Regions from separate parts of the Homo sapiens genome. Here regions 2, 3 and 4 are each linked to region 1. The links are contacts of gene promoters, found by promoter capture Hi-C in blood cells and fetal thymus (Javierre and others, 2016). All regions are on one chromosome and are shown on one strand. The core of a region is centred on a gene start or on the middle of the fragment in contact, and the rest is flanking DNA. Distances in the headings are between cores, read along the strand shown. Region 1 holds the start of FRS3 (fibroblast growth factor receptor substrate 3). Region 2 holds the start of TBCC (tubulin folding cofactor C). Region 3 has its middle 12 kb from the start of UBR2. Region 4 overlaps UBR2 (ubiquitin protein ligase E3 component n-recognin 2).

Region 1 (2,745 bases), core at 100-2,599:
CTGGTTTAAGACTCAGGAAACCAATATATCGGTCAGTTTTGTTGCTACTAAGTATCTGGGAGACTTAAGTCAACGCCCCCCCCAACTCCCACCTAAGGCCTTAGTTTTTGGGGGAACCATCTATAAACTGGGGAGCTTCTAGCTTAAATAACTTGCAGAGGTAAAAACGTAAGACAAACTTCACTAAAATTGACATGTTCATCTTCCAAGACAGGCTGCTTCAATTTCGCATTTGGAAGCTTGATAGATTTTCTGCTCCCCAAGCTCTGAAAGGCCTAATTTTAACATAAATGTTAACAGTAAGCCAAAATTTCAGGATATCTGAGCCCAAGGTAGACAAGTCAACAAGCCAGGACTCTGCAGACCCTGGACATCCCACATTCCTGCTCTGGAGAAACACTTCCCAGGGCCCCTTGCACCCTGCATCCTTGGACAACTTCCAGGTAAAAGGACCCCATCCCCTTGGTCTGGCTTATTTTCTGGAAGGAAGAAGCAGGCTCAGGGAGGTGTGCACAGACTAAAGATAGGTTGCTGGGAAAATACTGGGGCTTGAGCCACCGACGGGGGCACGGCGCGGGCACTGAAACGAAGAACTCTAGGGTGCAAGATGGGGGAGGGGCTGAATTTCCCTATCACCATCTCTTCTCCTTAAGATATCAGGATGTATCAGATAGCCCACTGAGGAGGGACTGCATTGAGTGGAAATGGGGAGAGGCCTCTGGTCTGGGATAGGTATGGATCAGGGGCAGGAGTGAGAGGGGGGTGTGGGGGCTGAAAACGTATGAGGACGTTTGGGGAAACATGAGCAAGAATTTTGGATGTGGGCATTTTGGATAGTGCAAGGAGAATGGGGATATGAGGGATCCTAGGAATTTCCGGGCAGTGGAAGCATTTGGGGGCATCCAAGAGAAATGGTGGGTCCGTGGGCATAGCAGGAGATTTGTTGAGTGAATGAGGGGGTTCTGAGGGCTCCAGGAGATGCGATGATGTGTCCAGGGCGGAGAGGGTAGAGGTGGGTTGGGGGAGCCAGAGGCTGCAGGACAGGCTACAGGACTGTCAAGGGGAATTTCTACATGCCCGTAAGGAATGAGGAGGTCTGGGTGCGCGCTGTCCCCGGATCCCCGCCCCCAGCCCCGGTGCTCCGCCGCCTGCCCGCCCGCCCGGGGCTTCCTAGGGAGGGAGTGGAGACTGCGGCGCGGCGCGGCGCGGCGCGGCGCGGCCTCGGTGAAGCCGCCTCGTCCCCGCCCCGCCGCGCCCCGACTCACATCGCCCCGCGGCCCGGGCGGCGCCGGGCCCCGCTCCCGGGTCCCGCTGCAGCAGCCGCCGCCCGCCCGGAGCTAAGGCCTCCCCGCCCCGCCCCGCCCCGCGGCCGCGGGGTCGGAGGTCACCGGCAGCACCAACGAGACGCTGCGGGCTGGCGGACCCGAGCGGGGGCGACCGGCACGCAGCCTAGAAGGTCCCTTTGGAGGACTTTGCAGTCGGGAGCAGTGAGCATGCGCAGACGCCAGAGGGCGCTCCTGGCCAGGGGCTGAGCAAGCCCGGAGGGGACAGGGCGGAGCCTGCGGCGGAGGCGGGGCGCGGAGGCGGGGCTGAGGACACCAAAGTTGGGGGTGGTCCGGGGAGCGGAAAGGGGACGGAGGGTTGGGCGAGAAACGAAGGGAAGGGGAGAGGGTCTGAAGGGACCTGAAAGGAGAAGGGCAAGACGATGGAACCTGGAAGAGGGTTGAGGGGAGGGGAAGGGGCCAGGGGGACCACTGGGGACAAGGGGGAGAGAACTGAAGGGAAACACGCGGAGGAGCGGGGCTGGGAGACCACAGGGAGAGTTTGGGGAGACCTGGGAACTGCGGAGAGACAGGGCTGCGGGCCCGGCGAGGCGTTTCCATTCAGCGAATGGTTGAAAACCCAGCGTAAACGCGGCTCCCGGCGTCTGCTGGATGCCTGCCGGGCGCAGTCCGAGCCAGAGAGCCCTTGCACCTGCATGGCAGAGGCCATGGAGCCCGCACATTTCCACCCTGAGATCCCATAAATGTGGTTTTGTTTTCCTTTTTTTTTTCCTCCCCCCAATCTGCAGCTCCAGGCCCCTCCCTGAGCCGCCCCTCTCCACCAGCCGGGGAGGGGCGGGCGGGGGCCGCTGGGGCGTGGGAGAGGAAGGGCCGCGCTATTAGGGCGGGCGGGGGCGGACGGGGGCGGGCGCTGAAGCCTTGGGGTGGGGACCGGGTGAGGGGCCTGACGGCAGAGTCGGTCCAGAACTGCCCGGACAGCGACGCACAGCGAGGGTGAGACCCCAGCGGAGTCCTGGTCCCCTCCCCTAAAATCCCAGCAGCCAGACCGGGAACCCCAGCGGACTCGGGAAACACCGCGTCCCAGCCCCGGAGGCGGGCCCGCCAAGTTCCAGAAAAACTCTGGGGATCTATCGAGAGGGCAGTTGGCGGGACTGGGCACTCCCCTTCCTTCTCCCTCCCACTGTCCCCAGAAATCTTCCCATCCCTCCACCTCCCCAAGCCCTAAGTCCTCTCGGGCTCTGCCCTTCAGGGCAGCGGGTGTTGGGGATGTCCAGCTCCTGAGCCCTCTTGCACGGAGGCTCTGCACGGAGGCAAGACAAGGGGTTCAGCTCTGTCCCTTATCTGAGGTGGGAGGGGGAAGGGAATTATGGAAGGAATCCAGCTGGCCTGTTAGTAAGGGTGTTCCAGTGCTAGGTGGAGGTGGAGTTTGGCTGCCTTTGGGGAGATTGGAAGGGTGAGGAAT
Region 2 (2,718 bases), core at 145-2,644, 970 kb after region 1:
CAGCCCGGACAACATGGCGAAACCCCGTCTCTACTAAAAATACAAGTTCGCGTGGTGGCGCGCGCCTGTAATCCCAGCGCGCCACCACGCTGGGGGACGGAGTAAGACTCAGTCTCAAAGGCATGACGAAAATAGCAAAAATGCTTTAGTGTTATACCTGTTACGAATTTAATGGAAATTACAAGTAGGAGCCCATTACAATCTCTAGCCTTAAAATGCTGAAAACATACACAGTGTGACAATAAGTAAACTTCGAGACCCAATAAGGGGGAAAGTCCAACGTGGAAAGTATTTGGTAGGAGTGAAGAACAGAGTGACAACTGCTTAGTCCCACTGGATATTTCGCTCCTCTTCAGGAAGAATACTCCAGTTTGGGGAGGCCATATCCCGGGCCAGCCAGTTAAAATCGTCAACATCGTTCCAGTTATTTTTGCTCCTATCTAAACCAGAGCTCTCGAAGTCCTTGTCGATCTCCGGGTAGCTCCAGGTGTAAGGGGCGAACTGGATCCCACTGCAGTCCTCCACGATGGCCCTGCTGGTCACCTGCAGGAAGATGCGGGTGTCTTTCGTACTGTGTATGCGGAGCTGTTGGCAGGCCACTGCCAGCACGCAGTCACTGCAGTCCTCCAGGAAAACAGAGGTAGACACCGGACCGCAGAGCAGCTTGCAGCTGTGGGCCTTGGTTAGCCGCAGGGTGTTGGGATTTCCATACAGTCTGACCGTGCAGTTGCTCAGTTCGGTCAAAAGAACGTCGCGCTGGTGCAACTCGCTGGCTCTCTTCTCCAAGACTTGGGACTCCAGGTTGGAGAAACCGCAGACCCAGCTGGGGCCGAGGTCTCCTTCCGCCTTCTTGGGCAGCGGGGAGTCCTGTATGCTTTCAACTGCCGGGGGGATGCCAGGAGCCGCGTCTACTTTGGTAGACGAAGCAGCATCCTTTCCCCGGGTCTTGAAAGCGAAACGCTTCTTGGGCTGCAGCCCCCGGCGCCGCTCGGCCAAGGCCGCCTGCAGCCGCGCCAGCGCCTCTTGTCCCTGCCGCAGGTCGTAAGCGGCTAGGAAAAAAACTGAGTCGTTGATTAGTTTCTGCAGCCCCTGGAGCCGAGAGGCCGCCTCCTCCAGCCGCTCGACCGACTCCGCGCGCTCCAGAAGCTCTTCCACGGCCGCTCGCTCCCGAACAAAGGTGGCGACGAAAAAGTGGCTGTTCTCCTTCTCTACCTCCTGGTTCTGCCGCTTTTGTTTCCGCCTTTCAACTTCCAGCTGCCGTTCTTGTTCGCGTCTCTGAAGCCGCTCAGGCACCAGGCTCAGGTCCCGCTGGGACTCCATGTCTCCGGTCCTGACAGCAGCAGCGGAGCAACTGACGGACTCCATATTGGCTTCAAGCTTCCTCTCTCTTGTCTTCCTTCCTCCGGGCGCGCTGTCCGTGAGGCCTCCCACCAACGCGTCCGGTGATTGGCCTAACATGATGATGTCAGATCCCCGGCCTTATTTTCTTCGCCTATTGGTTCCTCTGCGTCGGAGGGGGCGGGGAGATGGGGCGGGGCCGACTGACTATGGGGGTGGGAAGACAAAGGTTCTTGTGGATGGGTGGGGTGGGAGGCAGGCGGGGGAATCTTTTTTTTCCTCTTAAAGGGGCAGGACTTATATCCGGGATTGTGGGGTGAGTTGCAGCAGCGGCAGCTGCACATGTGGGTTTGTTTATAAGAACAAGGTTAGAAACTCGCAGGCCTCCCCCTCCCCCCAGCTCCTCCCTACTACCCCCTTACAGGCCGGAGATCCGCTACTAGGGGTGTGGGTGGGAGGGATGAGTGCGTGTGGTGGGTTGGGGGGACAGGTAGTGGTGAGAAAGATGGAGCGGGGGGGAATATTGCACCGCCTGGCCCGCGCCGGAGGAAGCAGCAGCTGGAACAGCTGGCTGGGGAGCCGCTTGCATGCCTCCGGTTTTTTCTTTTCCCTTCCACCACCCCTTCCCCCAACCCATTTCTGCCTCCCCGTAGCCCTCATCCTTACCGCCCCCCTCCCCCCTATCCACTGCAGTTCGGCGCGGCCTGGGGGCTCCTGGATCCCCGCAGGCAGTTACTAGGGCAGGAGAAGGCAAGGGGCACTGCGATGGGAGAGACTGGGTTCCTCACTGCAACCTGGTTCGAGGGGCCCTGGGGGAGTCCATAAAAGGATTACTATTTTTTTGGCCAATTGCTGCAGTCGGAGGGGTGGGGGCGGGGGAAGGTGAGATCCACACCCCCTTCCTCTTTCTTCCCTGCCCTCCCCGAGCTCGGTCCCGGCCACTCCCTCCGCAGCTGGGCGTCGCCGGCCGCGCTGGGGTGAGACCCTAGCCCCGGGCTCCGTGGCTCTCTGGGGCGGTCGGTCTTAGGAAAGCGGTGGGAGAAGCGGTACATTATTTCTAGGGGTGGTGGGAGGGATTTGTCACCGGAAGTGAATGGCCTAGCCTAAAGTCGGGACCAACCCGAGGTGTGGGTGGGCAGCCAAGACGGCGCAGTCACTGGCAAAAACCCGAGGCAGCGGGCAGGGCGAGAACCCGAGACGCAGCCGCTGCCCGGGCGCGGCAGCCTCGCATGCTTCGCTCAGATCTGCGGAGCTCCCGAACCTCTTTAACCCTGCCCGCCCTTCCAACCCTAGGTTTCCTCCTTATATCCCCAGTTCCCAGCCTCCATCGTTTAAATTGGGGTATTTAACGACCCAAGAAACTTGAAATTTCACCGATCT
Region 3 (2,700 bases), core at 201-2,700, 770 kb after region 1:
AGTCCAGGATATCTCCCAGAAAAAAAAAGAGACCAAGAGGTGGAAATAGAAGACAAAAGATAAGAAAAAGAGAAGACTAGCCTGGGAGTTCCAGGAAGAGAGAAAAGAGAGAAACAGATAACATTATTTTTAAAATTAATTCTCTAAAATTTCCCTAAACTTAGAAACACAGGTTTTCAGATTTAAAGGGCCCACTTAGTACCCATAACCAATAGATGGAAATTAACTCACGTCAAGCCACATTATCATGAAATTTCAGAACTCTATGGATAAAAAGATCCTTTACGTTTCCAGAGATAGAAAAATAGATCAGAAATAAAAGATCAGAAATCAGAACGTCTTTAGATTTCTCAGTAGCAATACTGGAAGCTAGAAGACAATTGGGAAATGCCTTCAAAATTCTGGAGGAAAATTATTTTCAACCTAGAATTCTATACTCAGGCAAACTATCAATCAAGTGGGAGAACAGAATAAAAATCATTGCATGATTACAATAAATTCAAAAATGAATTTCTTATGCAACCTTTCTTGGGAAGCTATTGGAGTATATGACTCATCAAAAGGAGGATGAATTCAAGAATGAAGACACTAAGGAGACATAGGATCCAGTAAATGAAAGCTTCAACACAGGAGGGATGAAAGGAATCTTAAGGATATGGAGACTGGAAATTCCGAAGTCAAAGTGAAAATAGCTTTGAGAATGTCAGCTGTGTACCAGGCAGGAGTGGATCCAGGTCTTGTGGGGCCTGAAGCTTATGCAATTTGAGGGTCCTCTTCTTAAAAGTAAAATACAAAATTGTAAATACAAAATTAGGTATAAAAATGAATATTTATTTACAATGAGAAATCACAACAAAAATTTTAAAAGCTAACAAAAATACCACAGACATCACAAAATCTAGAAAAATAATTTTTTTTTTTTCGAGACAGAGTTTTGCTCTTGTTGCCCAGGCTAGAGTACAATGGCGTGATCTCAGCTCACTGCAACCTCTGCCTCCTGGGTTCAAGCAATTCTCCTAGCTCAGCCTCCCGAGTAGCTGGGATTACACGCCCAGCTAATTTTTTGTATTTTTAGTAGAGACGGGGTTTCTCCATGTTGGCCAGGCTGGTCTTGAACTCCTGACCTCAGGTGATCCGCCCACTTTGGCCTCCCAAAGTGCTGGGATTACAGGCGTGAGCCACCGCGCCTGGCCAAAAGATAGAATTTTTAAATGAATTAACTGCTTGATCCCTGTCTATAATACTTTTTTCCTTTATTTTTCAGCTATATACTTGTCCTCCAACAGTGTTTCATGAAAATGTTCAAACCTATACAAAAGTTAAAAGAACTTTACAGTGAACACCATATACCTGTCATCTAAATTCTACACTTAACATTTTGCTGGCGGGGCATGGTGGCTCACACCTGTAAGGCCGAGGCAGATGGACTGCTCGAGCTCAGGAGTTTGAGACCAGCCTGGGCAGCATGGTGAGACTCCATCTCTACTAAAAATACAAACATTAGCCGGATGTGCTGGCATGCACCAGTAGTCCCAGCTACTTGGGAGGCTGACGTGGGAGGATGGCTTGAGCCCAGGAGGTGGAGGTTGCAGTGAGCCGAGATGGTGCCACTGCACTCCCACCTGGGCAACAGAGCCAGACCCTGTCTCAAAAAAAAAAAAAGTATAGCAAAATGTTTTGTTGTTGTTGTTGTTGAGACAGGGTCTGGCTATACTGCCCAGGCTCAAGTGCAGTGGCACGATCTCAACTGGGCTCAAGCCATCTTCCCACCTTAGCCTCCATAGTAGCTGGGACTACAGGCGCACCTCTGTGGTGCATATTCACCCTTGCACCCAGGGTGAATTACGACAGTAAGAGGTGTGAATATTTCTGGAAGCAATTCCTACTGGAATGGCTGACAATAACCCAACTTTACATAGCTGTGACTGTGAACTACATAAATAATCTAACTAAACCCATGCTAAGATCTCCTATTTATTTCCCATTGGTCTGATCCCGAAACAGCAATGTGAGAGGAAATGCGACTGAGGAAAAGCTAGACAGGAAAGAGACAGCAGTTTAGCCAATCACAGTTAAAATATCTTATTTTGCAAATTTTATGTAACTTATGACCATATGAATTCATTGCTGAAGCCAGTGAGGGCCCCTGAAGCTTAAGCTTTACTAGTTTCATGGGAAATCTACCTCTGGAACTAGGCCAACAGGGTAACCAATCCGTTTTGGAGTAGATAGAAAACTCCAGGAGAGATCTCTACAAGACTGGGGGGAAAAAATGGCCGGGCACGGTGGCTCATGCCTGTAATCCCAGCTACTGGGGAGGCTGAGGCACAAGAACTGCTTGAACTCGGGAGGCGGAGGTTGCAGTGAGTCGAGATGGCACCATTGCACTACAGCCTGGGTGACAGAGCAAGACTGTTTAAAAAAAAGAAAAAACGAAGGAAGGAAGGAAGGAAGGAAGGAAGGAAGGAAGGAAGGAAGGAAGGAAAGAAAAGATTTAAAAAAATTTTTTTTTTGAGACAAGGTCTCGCTCCATCACTCAGACTGGAGTGCAGTGGAGCAATCTCAGCTCTTGCAACCTCTGCCTCCCAGGCTCAAGTGATCCTCCCACCTAAGTCTCCCGAGTAGCTGGGACCACAGGTGTACACCACCATGCTCCGCTAATTTTTTAAGGTTTCTGTAGAGACAAGGTGTCACTATATT
Region 4 (2,700 bases), core at 26-2,525, 790 kb after region 1:
GAATGGGAACATAAAATATAAGGAAAAAAACTGGTTTTTAAATAAAATCTTTCAATATGTTGTAAAAAAAAGTCCGAAGCACTTAACTTTCTAGGATCATGGAGGTGAATTATTTTGGTCTTATTGCTTAATTTTTCTTTCATAAAGAGTAAATTGAATCCTAGCACCTTTGGGAGGCCGAGGTGGGCAGATCACCTGATGTCAGGAGTTTGAGACAAGCCTGGTCAACATAGTGAAACCTTGTCTCTACTAAAAATACAAAAATTAGCCGCGTGTGGTGGTGCACACCTGTAACCCCAGCTACTCAGGAGGCTGAGGCAGGAGAATCACTTGAACCTGGGAGGCAGAGGTTGCAGTGAGCCGAGATCGTACCACTGCACTCCAGCCTGGGCGACAGCACGAGACTCAAAAAAAAAAAAAAAAAAAAGCGCTTAGGATCATTTGACTACCTTCATTCTTGTTTTGGTTTGCTGACAATGGGTGAAAAATGAGACATTTACCTTTGAATGAGGCCAAAACGAGGTCTTTTAGCTCAAAGAATAAGATTCTAGTATGCTTGTTGAGGACTCTTTTTCTTTTTTTAAAACTTGTCCTCTTTATAATTACTGAGCTTAAAGGATGTGTATGTATATATAAAATTTTGATTGAGTCACTCTGAAGGGAGAGAATACTTAAAGCCTGTAGGATTGTCTCCTAAGAAATGATGCTGCTGCTGCTGTTTTATTTTTATTTTTATTTTTTTTTCCCTAACCACTTGGCCACCAGGGAAGAAATGCTGTTGTTTTGAAAGTAATTTAGTCTCTTTCCTACTTGCATAATGTAAACACAACAATGTTAGTAATATTTGGAAAATAGTTTAGTTTCACTTTAAGCATGAAAACTCTTTCACCGTTTTTGGTTATAAGCTTCTATCCAGTCCCTTAACTTATGAACAAAATTTTTACATTTTTAGTAAAAGTTCTCTGAAAACAGAAATTGACTAGAAAGTTAATATACATCACCTCATGCATATTTAAAATCTCTCTGTATGTTGTTTTTAGAAGGAGTGGTCTGAAGAATATACAAGTAATAGCTAAAATGAAGACCTTATGTTGACTTCTTATGATGTTACATATCACTTGAACATACTTTTTTTTTTTTTTTAAATAAAAATGTAACTGGAATTAGGTAGTAATCCATAGGTAAACATTGGAGGTTTTTTTTAATTTCAGCTTTTACTTTAGATTTAAGGAATACATGTGCAGGTTTGTTACATGAGTATATTGCACCTGGGTAGTGAGCATAGTACCCAATAGGTAGTTTTTCAACTCACTTCCCCTTCCTCTTTCCCTCCATCTGTGGGTTTTGTTCACGGTTCAGTTAACTGCATTCTAGCAGAAGTGAGTCTTTTTTTTTTTTTGTCCTTTGAGACAGACTCTTGCTCTGTCGCCCAGGCTGGATCTTGGCTCACTACAACCTCTGCCTCCTGGGTTTAAGCGATTTCTCCTGCCTCAGCCTCTTGAGTAACTGTGATTACAGGCATGCGCCACCACATCCAGCTAATTTTTATATTTTTAGTAGAGAAGAGACTTCACCATGTTGGCCAGGCTGGTCTTGAACTCCTGACCTCAGGTGATCTGCTTGGCCTGGCCTCCCAAAGTGCTGGGAAGCTTTTCAGATTTTTCGGTGTGGATACCCAGGTTGAGCTGGAAATGGAGAAAATAACAGATTTTGGTGGAGCATGGAGGGGAGATCATGCATTCAGTTATTGAGTTGGTACCTATGAGATCTAAGTAGAATCATGCTTTAAAATTTGTTTTTAGTGGGGAGAGCAAACGGAAAAGGCCTTATAGAGAGAGAGAAGTTGATCAGAGAAAGAAGGCATAATTGGTACAACAGTCTCTTGTGGACTGACTTATTCAATAAGAGACTGGTATATAAACTTGCTTATCAATCATTAAGAAATGTGTATTGGCTGTTCATGTTCACCGTACATATTGGCTGTTCATATTCACCGTACACTCTTCCTATGGACAAACTGACGTGAGAATTGATATCACAATGAGAATAACATTTGAGCAAAGCATTAGGAAGGACATTAGGTGAGCTCAATGGTTCATATCTTATATAATGATTTCTTGTAATTATTTTCTGGTACTGCCTAGAGAAGATTGCTTCAAGAGTCATTTTGCAGGGAAGGAGGGAGGCTTGTTTCATTTTAATTTTACTTACACTTAAAAGTAGGATTTAAACATACTTGGCATTTTAATAGATTAAATTTCTAACGTACGGTGGTGAGTGTTGTAAACAAAATATTTTAATATGCTTTTGTCATTATTTTTGTACCTAAAAGAAAGTAGGGTGAATTTGTTCAAATTAGTTTGTTGGTGTTTAAAACCATTTCTTCTCTTTTCTTCTTTTAAAGAAATGGCTGCAAGCAACTGACCTCACTAGAGAAGTGTACCAGCATTTAGCCCACTATGTACCCAAAATCTACTGCAGGGGTCCCAACCCTTTTCCACAGAAAGAAGACATGCTGGCACAGCATGTTTTGTTGGGACCAATGGAATGGTACCTTTGTGGTGAAGATCCTGCATTTGGATTTCCAAAACTTGAGCAAGCAAACAAACCTTCTCATCTTTGTGGTCGTGTTTTTAAAGTAGGAGAGCCTACATATTCTTGCAGGTAAAATATTTTAATTTTCTTTCTAGGAGGCTCTTG

What was found. Contacts are between HindIII fragments. The CHiCAGO score rates a contact against its expected background, and 5 or more counts as called.
Region 2: a contact is called between the fragment with the promoter of TBCC here and the fragment with the promoter of FRS3 in region 1, in 1 of 17 cell types (fetal thymus). The highest score is 5.7, in fetal thymus.
Region 3: a fragment that was not itself captured here is called in contact with the fragment with the promoter of FRS3 in region 1 in 5 of 17 cell types (total CD8 T cells, naive CD8 T cells, neutrophils and 2 more); the score reaches 10.3 in total CD8 T cells.
Region 4: a contact is called between a fragment that was not itself captured here and the fragment with the promoter of FRS3 in region 1, in 2 of 17 cell types (total CD8 T cells and naive CD4 T cells). The highest score is 5.3, in total CD8 T cells.

The regions. Positions count from the first base shown.
Region 1 is chr6:41,778,551-41,781,295 of GRCh38, forward strand. It overlaps FRS3 (fibroblast growth factor receptor substrate 3), which reads right to left and starts at 1,350. Exons shown (of 7, transcript NM_006653.5): 1 at 1,266-1,350. It overlaps PRICKLE4 (prickle planar cell polarity protein 4), which reads left to right and starts at 2,232. Exons shown (of 8, transcript NM_013397.6): 1 at 2,232-2,276. RefSeq lists silencers at 1,076-1,225, 1,256-1,665, 1,946-2,015. The HindIII fragment of the contact is 6,259 bases long and covers 238-2,745 here.
Region 2 is chr6:42,744,709-42,747,426 of GRCh38, forward strand. It overlaps TBCC (tubulin folding cofactor C), which reads right to left and starts at 1,395. Exons shown (of 1, transcript NM_003192.3): 1 at 1-1,395. The coding sequence starts at 1,365. The coding sequence ends at 325. It also overlaps a transcript of BICRAL not described here. RefSeq lists enhancers at 884-1,043, 1,104-1,183, 1,214-1,423, 1,488-2,451 and a silencer at 2,394-2,453. The HindIII fragment of the contact is 2,174 bases long and covers 1,376-2,718 here.
Region 3 is chr6:42,550,858-42,553,557 of GRCh38, forward strand. No RefSeq gene overlaps it. Among named protein-coding and RNA genes, the nearest start is that of UBR2, 12 kb to the right of the region's middle. The HindIII fragment of the contact is 1,400 bases long and covers 751-2,150 here.
Region 4 is chr6:42,571,330-42,574,029 of GRCh38, forward strand. UBR2 (ubiquitin protein ligase E3 component n-recognin 2) reads left to right here. Exons shown (of 47, transcript NM_001363705.2): 2 at 2,405-2,664. Among named protein-coding and RNA genes, the nearest start is that of UBR2, 8.7 kb to the left of the region's middle. RefSeq lists enhancers at 1,431-1,490, 1,581-1,630. The HindIII fragment of the contact is 744 bases long and covers 904-1,647 here.